3 separate regions of the Homo sapiens genome follow, and regions 1 and 2 are each linked to region 3. Evidence: promoter capture Hi-C in 16 types of primary human blood cells and fetal thymus (Javierre and others, 2016). All regions are on one chromosome and are shown on one strand. The core of a region is centred on a gene start or on the middle of the fragment in contact, and the rest is flanking DNA. Distances in the headings are between cores, read along the strand shown.

Region 1 (2,994 bases), core at 182-2,681, 120 kb before region 3:
AATCAAAGCTCTGACGCACTGGGCCTATGGCTCATTCTGACAACAGCTGGCTGGACCTGAGAAGCAGTGCCCCCTTTATATGAGATGCAAGGTCTCCAGTTTATGCCAATTCCCCCTCTTCCTCTTTCCTTTCACATCTCCTAGCCTGTTATATATCTGCTAGGCACCCATAGGTACAGTATTTGCTTTAGCCAGTCTCTATCTCAGGGCCTAATAAAGCGTTCTGTGGTACTGCTCAGGAATGATGTCTTTCTTCCATGTAATGCAACCCTAGTATCCCCCACTAAGATCTGAGTTTCTTCATACGTTCTGATCCTCCTAATATCTAGCCAAGGTCTGGGCATTTATGAAATGCTTATAGTTGTATCTAAAAGCTTGGAGTAATGGGCAACTGGGGCCTAGAAAACTCTGAATTATTTCTATAATTCAGAATAAGAACTCCCAACCTTTATATATGTCAGTGCTTTTTCCAATACCTTTCCCTATGAGCTGATAGCTTAGCAGTAAGAGCATGAGTTTTGCATCAGATCTGGATTCTACTCCACACGTATGTGTCAACTGTGCGGTCTTGGGTAATGTTCTTTAACTCCCTGAGCTGCCATTTCCTAATTTTAAAATGAGGATGAAACTAATGCCTATTTGAGAGGGTTGTTGTCAGGATTAAATATATGGGACACATGAAGTACTCAGCACAGTGCCTGCCAGCTTGTTAGTATTCGATAACTGGTTAACCAATGGGGGAATCGCATCCTCTTTCCGTTCTGAGGGGAATGGACGATGATGGTGGAATGATGCTGATGGCGGTGGTGATGGAGGTGGTGATGGCGATGATGTGATGATGGTGATGTTCATAAATTAAGACAGCAATAAGCATCACCTAACTTTCTTACTGTCCTCTCTTCCCACTATTCCTCCTGCTTCAAGGATATTATTGAGAACATAAGCCTTTTACAAAAACTCTCACGTCTTCTAGTGGGAAATATCCTGGACTAGAAGTTAACAGATCTGACGTCTGCCACAGAGGTCACAATAAGGTAGTTGGAGTCATTATCATTCAGTGTGACCTCGATGTCACTTACATTATCCTGTGCCTCAGTTGCCCCTTTTATACAATGCATAATTATGTGTCAAACCCTATGTAAGCACTTCACATATCTCGTTTAATCTCCACTCCATTACTGTGTGGCCATTACTCTTTCTACCTCCATTTTACAGATTATGCAAACTAAGTGACTCAGAAGGGTGAAGTATTTTGACCAAAGTCACCCAGCTAGCAAGCAGCAAAGCTAGAATTCAAAGCAAGATTCATCTAATGCCAAAGTCATGCTTTTTTTTCAAGCCACTTTTGGGCCTCAAAAGATGTATAAAATATTCAGGAAACATAAAGGCGAATCAGTAACACATGTAGGGAGGGCGTGGGTGATGTTGGGGATGTTGGCCATGGCTCAGTGGGGAGTTGGGGAGGAGGAGTGTTATGTGTGAGGATTCTTTCGAGGCTGCAATTTTGGTTCCTTGTTCACCAACACTAAAATCTCTGAGCTGAGACACTATGCATAGTACGGGATCGAAAGAGTTGGGCCCCCAATGTCACTCTGATCCTACCTTTTCGATGCCATTTCTTGAGTTTTCTGGTTTCACCAGGATGGATGGTGGGGCAGATGCGGGCGGTTTTGGCAGAGGCTCACTCTTGATGGGGATTTCTTTGTCTTCCATAATGAGGGAGCTGGCCGCGGAGTGGATCCAGGCCTCACTGCCCCTGCTGATGCACGTGAGGGCGGGCTCCCCCGTGAGGGCAGGCTTGGACCCCATCTCCACCACCACGGCTGAGGGGGAGGAGGGGATCCCCTGTGGCTGGTAGAATTGGAACTGCTGAGGCCGAAGGACCATGGTGGGGCTGCGTCTGAGGGAGCCTACCACGAGAGTGGGGATCCCGGACTGGAGGGGTCTCTGCAGGGATCCATCTGGGGAATTATAGGACAGAGAGATCAGCAGCAGGGGCGGCTGGCAGTAGGTTGGGTGGGGCTGGGTAAGCAGTGCTTCCTGATATCCCAGAATAGACAAGCGCTTTCCTAATCTGACTGCACTCACATTCTCTCCGGGTCTTTCAAAGGTGACCTTATTCTTTTTTTAGTGCTGTTTGCTGATGCTGGCAGCAAATATCTCTCTGGCTGAATGGTGTGTGTGAGTGTGTATGTGTGTATGTGTGTAGGGGGGCTGTCAGAAGGTATATTGCTTCCATTTGCCTTGTGATACACACACACACACGCACACACACACGTACACACACACACGCGCGCGTGAAGCAGACACAGAGGCAGTCAGACCAAATAGGAAACACATGACAGAATCAGAGATAGGAAATAGAAGACATTGAGAAACACAAAGGAGAGGCAACCGAGAAGAATGAGAGAGAGGAAAAGGAGAAAGAGAGGAGGAGAGAGGAAAACTCTGCCCAGCGACTTGCTGTGAAAATCTTGACAGAAGCTTTAGGCATGTGGCAGGTGGGGGTTGCTTTTTGTCGGGGGCTGCAGGGAGAAAGGGTGAGTGGCAAGGGCTAGGCAAGCACAACAGCAGACAAAGGCAAATTTGGAAAGGTTATTCCACAGTTAGGGCTGTGAGGATGGGCTTTGCAATGTCTCATGACAGAGGATCTGGAATCAGACCTCCTCCTGGAAAGCCTGGGATGAGTTAAGTCACGTCACCTCTCTGCACCTCAGTTCTCTCGTTTGTAAGCTGGAGATAATAACAGTACATCATTGGGCTGCTGTGAGGATTGCATTCTATTTGGTGTGCAAAGTATCAGGATAGTGCCTGGAATATGATAAATGCCGCATGTCTGTTAGCTATCATTATTTTTGGGTAAAGGATCACATATCCTAAAAATGCAAGGTCCAAGAGCTTGGTTTTGTCCCTTCCTGAGCTCATTGTTTTTCTTTTCCTTTTTTTTTTTTTTTTAAATTGAGATGGTCCTGTCTCAGGAAAAGGTCATTTCTT
Region 2 (2,842 bases), core at 258-2,757, 110 kb after region 3:
AAACCCCCAAAATTAGCCGGGGCATGGTGGCACACACCTGTAGTCCCAGGTACTCGGGAGGCTGAGTTAGGAGGATCGCTTGAGCCGGGAGGCAGAGGTTGCAGTGAGCTGTAATTGCATCACTGCACTCCAGCGTGGATGACAAAGTGAGACCCAGTCTCAAAAAAAAAAAAAAAAAAAAAAAAGATTTTTTTCACTATCTAAGTACATGGACCTGTCTTCAAGGAGTTCACTGTCAAAAGGGACAGAGGAGGATATATTAATTTTCATGATAAAGGCTTTCTTGGGGGCATATGGCAGACATTACATTGTAGTATGGGGCAAGATTTATATTTTAATTATAAATCCATGAAAGCATTTAAACTATTTAGAAACAGTTGTCTTTTTAAAAACAAGTAAATATTCTCTCCAGCACTCTTACTTCTCTGGTGCAGCCCTTTCCCTAATGCTAGTGTGGAGTGAAGTGTCAGGGAGGCCTTGTATCTTACACAAATTCCGAACTGGTAAAGCACGAGCTTCTGAGTTTTTTATTAGTCTAGGAAAATCAGATATATTATCTTCTAATCATTTTAAAATCATTGTGTAAGTATTTTTGGATTGCAGATAGATGCCAGCAATGTATTTAATGCCACACCACAGTAAATTGCAAGATAAAAACCAAAATCTTGAAACTTTTTAAGTCTTCAAAAGTGTTGATTCATTTGTTAGTAGCAAAACCAGCTACATTTATTTTCTACTTGCACAGTGCTAGGTATTATACTGTAATTAAATTGTTTCCTTTAATTCTTATAACAACTCTTTGAGGTAAGTATTTATTCTCATTTTACAGATGAAGAAACTAGGGCAGATTAAAGTGATTTGTCCAAGCTTCTCACAGATAGGATTCCAATTCAGATCTCTTGGGCTCTAAAATTCACTGTTTTCTAACATCGTGTCTTTAATTTTGTTTTTTATTTCTTTTCATTTATAAATAATTTGACTTATAAAACATTTCAAAAACAATATTGCAGAAACAAAGAATTCCCACATACTTTTTTCCAGCTTCCCCAAACCACAGTATACTTTTTAAAACCAGGAAATTAACACTGATACAATGCTATTAACTAACCTATAGACCCTATTTAGATTTTGTCAATTGTCCACTAGTATCGTTTTTCCAGTCTAGCATCCAATTCAGGACCCCACATTGCATTTAGCTGCCAGTGTCCTGCAGTGTAGGACGGTTCCTCAGTCTTTCCTTGCATTTCCGGACCATGGTGATTTTGAAGAGTGCTGGGCAGTTATTTGTAGTGTATCTTTAGCTGCACTGGGTTTATGCATACATTTGATGTTGTGATAAGAGGATTTTCCTCTGTGTTACAATGAAAAACTGTCTTTTCAAAACCTTCACTATGCCGTTGCTGATTATTGGGTCATTTTTGAAAGAAAGAGGCTGATGTGCTGTTGGTTGGCCTTTGTTTGGAACCATAGCTTTTCCTGGCCAGAAGGATCTTGGATGATCACCTGGTGGTTCATCACCCCGACCTCACAGATGGCAGCGTTGTAGTCTGCATGTCTTGGCTCGTTGCCCTTTGTTCTTTCTATTTCATCATCCTATTGAAAGACCAATGAACAGCCATTCCAAATACTTTTCAACTTAAGTACGTTTTGTCCTTGATCATTGAAATTTTGATTAATTTATAACTCGTTTCGTCTTGGTATAAAATCAACTTTGCTTTTCTTCTGAGATAGACTATGGTGTGGAGCTCATAAAAGGAATTTGGCATAGCTCATGGTGATTTCTTTCTGCTGCTAAACACCAAATCTCTTTTCAGCAGCCCCATCTCTTTGCATGTACATGTTTGGCAGCAGCCTAGATAACAGATTCCCTTAATGCTTATAACACGGGTATGTTAATATACCAGACTTACTGTAGGTCTTCTTTGCCTTCTTTGAAGGACTCTTCAGACAGATCTGTCAGTCACCTGCTTCCTTGTACTCTCTCTGGTAACCTCATTTGTAAATTGGTAGACAGTGACTCCTTTGGATGTCACTGACTGTTTCTGAGAGGGGAAGCAAATGTTATTAAAAAAAGGCATTGGCTTTTGAGCTTTTTGGAAAGTTCATATTTTAATAACTCTTTTAAGAGTAGGCTTTCTGAAAGCTTATGGGTTTTTTTTTCCCTCGGCAAATATGAATGCAAAATGTTATATCTTCATGAAGCTTCTCCCAGAAACATATTGAATATTCTGTAATTAGATGGATTCAGTTTCTTGCCTCTAACTTTTTATATATATGTGTTTGCTTTAATGCATATTCCCCCCCAATATTATGGAGTTCTTGGCTTATCTTTTAATATGTAAAAACTAAAGCAAGCAGATACAACAGCTTTAGGCACGTCTACATTTTACCCTTGTTAGACTGTTACATACATATGATATATACAGTGGTATTTGTAGTAGTTTCATGTCTTCGGGAAAGGAAAAGGAGTTAGTTTACACGTTCTGTGAAGAAATTAAAAATTATAAGGAAATGCAAAATGAAGTCAAATATACCTTTAAAAATCCCTTAAATCATCCATAAAGTAGTATAGCATACATGGCATATGTATGCAGCCTGTGGGATCGTTCTCTTGCACACTGCAGTTTGTGATCAGCTAAGCCAGGATCAAGAAAGACAAGGGCTTTTGGCAGATATCTGGGTCTTCAGATCACATTGCTTTCATGAGAGTCTCTAGTATGAAATGGGGATTGAAGAATCCCATGTGAACCTGCTTGTCTGCGGGCTTTACACTATTATATTTATAGCAGAAATACTCTGTATATTAATACTTGATAGGTTTCCACGCTTTGAGAAGGACTGA
Region 3 (2,788 bases), core at 259-2,758:
TGCATTCGGGGCACCGCAGCTCTTTGTGGGCCTTGAAAACCCTCTGTAGACATGGTTTGCAGAAGGTGTGCTGGCAAGGGAGGACTTTGGCTGTGACATCGAGCTTCTCAAAGCACACAGGGCACTCCAGAAGATCAAGTAACGTCAAATCATCCATTTTATTTCAAAACTCCAGTTCCCACCTGGAGGAGCAGCGTCCACATGGTAGGGTCAGTTGAGCCACGGGGGCAGAGCTGGTCTCTTGAGAACGTCAGAATTTTTGCCTGCTTGAAGGAGGGAGAGGAGAGAAAAAAAAATGTGACTGCTCCGAGAGGTATATCCCACCTACATTGAGGCAGTGTCTCATAAGGCAGTTTGCAAGTACTTTGTTCCGGCACCCAAGTTTCAAATGACTCATTCTGATTCAATGCTAGCAGGTATAAGACTCAACTCGTGCTTGCTGTGAGGATCAGAGGGAACATTCAGCACAAGACTGACTGCTTATTGCCTATGTGGACAGGAAAGCAGGGAGATAAACTGGCCTGCTGAAGTGGCCCCCCAACCCCTCTCTACCAGCCAGGGCGGGAAGAGGTCCTTTACCCCCTGCCCGGGGAAAGCTCCTGGACAGTCTCAATTCTTACAACAAAGCCCCCTCCGAACGCAATTTCTGTGAAGCTATCTCCTCCTCCTCCTTCCCCTAAATCTAAATGTATCTATTATCTGCACCACATGCAGATTAGTTTAGGTGGGTAAGTTTATCTGAATCTCATGCAGATGTAGAATTATTTCCTTCACAATATACCTTCCCACATGATTCTAGCAATGTACAAGAAAAATTTCCACTAGAAACCCATTTCCAAAAATTGTTTTGCCTTAACCACAGGTCAGGGTGCTTGGAAGCTTTGTTTCTTTTCTTTTTTCATCTTTTTTTTTTTTTCTCTCCTCATCCCGATTACCTTAGGCTCAGAGACAATGTTCCTCCCACAAGGTAAAGTAGTGCAGCCTGTTTAGTTACTTTGACATTGTTCTCAATTTCAAATGAAGCAGATAGGAATTCTGGATTGTGGTCACGACCTGTAAAAACCGTACTGGGGCAGCATATACAGGTAGGGGTCGTGTGTGTGTGTACTCTGAAAACAGTACTTGTTCCAGAAACAAGTTTCCTTTTGGATGTATGAAAAGAAGCCTCCAGTTTAGAAAAGTCTGGAAGAAGTCAGCTGTCCCTCACAAGTGCCAGGGCTTCGGTAAGCACCGAGCCCAGAGGTTTGGCGAGAAGGCCAGTGGCCCCACTAGCGACTAGTAAGCAGGACAGACACGACCGAGAATGAGCGATGGCGCCTCGCCTTCCTAAGCCTCCTCTCCAAAGATGTCAGCGCGGCAGCGGGCTGGGGAGGCGTGTGGGGGCCACTAACCTTGTGCATGTAACTTCTGCTGAGTTCAGCTCAGCCCCCTCCTCCGCGCAGCAGGGGTGCGCTGCGCCCTCCAACCGGCTTCCTTTCCTCCAAGCGCCGCTGCTGCCAACCGCTTTGAAAACTTTAACCACTCAGTCTTACTCATTTCAAGGGATCGCCTTACCCAGCCCTGTTAACGCTTTCACTGCCAGGGCGCTGCCTACTTACCACGCTTTTGTTGTTGCAGTTGTTAACTTTATGATCTTTCCTTCAGTTTACTGAATTGCTTCTGGGAAAAGATTGTAAGAGGTAAAATATAAGCCAGTCCCTAAGGCCAAGTATTTACAAAGTTCATATTTTCACCTTTCCCGTTTTCTGTAGTATCCAAGGAGTCAGAACCTGCTCCATTATAAACATACCAAAGTGATTGTGTTTATTTTAAATCTTCATAAGGATTTCCTGGGAAGGTCAAAAGTAAAAATGGTCAAGCTATGAAAACAAGGATAAGTCGGACACCTAGAAAATATTGCTCTTTGAAAATCATAGTCAATCTCTGAATTTAGAGATAAGAGGGACTTTAGTGATCTTTTTGCTCAATCTGTTTAAATTAAAAAACTAGTGTCACGTATATACACATACGTGAAAAATCAAAGCACAGAGAAGCTTTTTCAAAAAAGGAAAAGCAGTGGCCTCCAAGCTCTCCTCCTGCCTGTTATCCACTGTAGTCTTTTCATATCCTCAGATTATGCCTATATTTCTATTTTTTGATTTATCGATAATACATTTCATGTAAAATTACAAAGGTATCCGATTAAGTGAATAATAACAATCTTAATGCCAGGGTAGTCCTTATCTGTGTCAACCACTGTTCTAAATACCTTACCTGTGTTAGCCCTTTAACCCCTTAACAACCCAAGGAGACACTAAACTATTCTTTACTTTCATCTTGCAGATGAGGGAACTTGAGACACAGAGAGGATAAATAACTCATCTCGGGAGTCACAGCTAGCAGAAGGCAAGTGGGCTGTGCTCTTAACAATGTCATGGAGTGATATAACTTTAAGAGGCTGGCCAGGCGCAGTGGCTCATGCCTGTAATCCCAACACTTTGGGAGGCCGACGTGGGCAGATCACAAGGTCAGGAGATCAAGACCATCCTGACCAACATGGTGAAACCTCATTTCTACTAAAAATACAAAAATTAGCTGGGCATGGTGGTGCGCACCTGAAGTCCCAGCTACTCAGGAGGCTGAGGCAGGAGAATCGCTTGAACCTGGGAGGCGGAGGCTGGAGTGAGCTGAGATCGTGCCACTGCACTCCAGCCAGGGCGACAAAAAAAAAAAAAAAAAAAAAGAGGTGAAGAGGTGGTTCAAGGGAGCTAAGCCTCCCCTAAGAGGGCAAGAGGTCAAAAGATAATGG

What was found. Contacts are between HindIII fragments. The CHiCAGO score rates a contact against its expected background, and 5 or more counts as called.
Region 1: a fragment that was not itself captured here is called in contact with the fragment with the promoter of SH3RF2 in region 3 in 1 of 17 cell types (neutrophils); the score reaches 5.1 in neutrophils.
Region 2: a fragment that was not itself captured here is called in contact with the fragment with the promoter of SH3RF2 in region 3 in 1 of 17 cell types (M0 macrophages); the score reaches 5.6 in M0 macrophages.

The regions. Positions count from the first base shown.
Region 1 is chr5:146,058,833-146,061,826 of GRCh38, reverse strand. SH3RF2 (SH3 domain containing ring finger 2) reads right to left here. Exons shown (of 10, transcript NM_152550.4): 9 at 1,603-1,961. All of the region lies in intron 1 of LOC107986458 (a long non-coding RNA gene), which reads left to right. Among named protein-coding and RNA genes, the nearest start is that of PLAC8L1, 45 kb to the left of the region's middle. The HindIII fragment of the contact is 2,110 bases long and covers 377-2,486 here.
Region 2 is chr5:145,826,176-145,829,017 of GRCh38, reverse strand. All of the region lies in intron 1 of PRELID2 (PRELI domain containing 2), which reads left to right. Among named protein-coding and RNA genes, the nearest start is that of PRELID2, 7.7 kb to the left of the region's middle. The HindIII fragment of the contact is 1,276 bases long and covers 870-2,145 here.
Region 3 is chr5:145,935,298-145,938,085 of GRCh38, reverse strand. SH3RF2 (SH3 domain containing ring finger 2) reads right to left here and starts at 1,508. Exons shown (of 10, transcript NM_152550.4): 1 at 1,392-1,508; 2 at 1-263. The coding sequence starts at 157. It overlaps LOC107986458 (a long non-coding RNA gene), which reads left to right. Exons shown (of 4, transcript XR_001742913.2): 4 at 2,323-2,385. RefSeq lists an enhancer at 1,193-1,770. The HindIII fragment of the contact is 1,154 bases long and covers 882-2,035 here.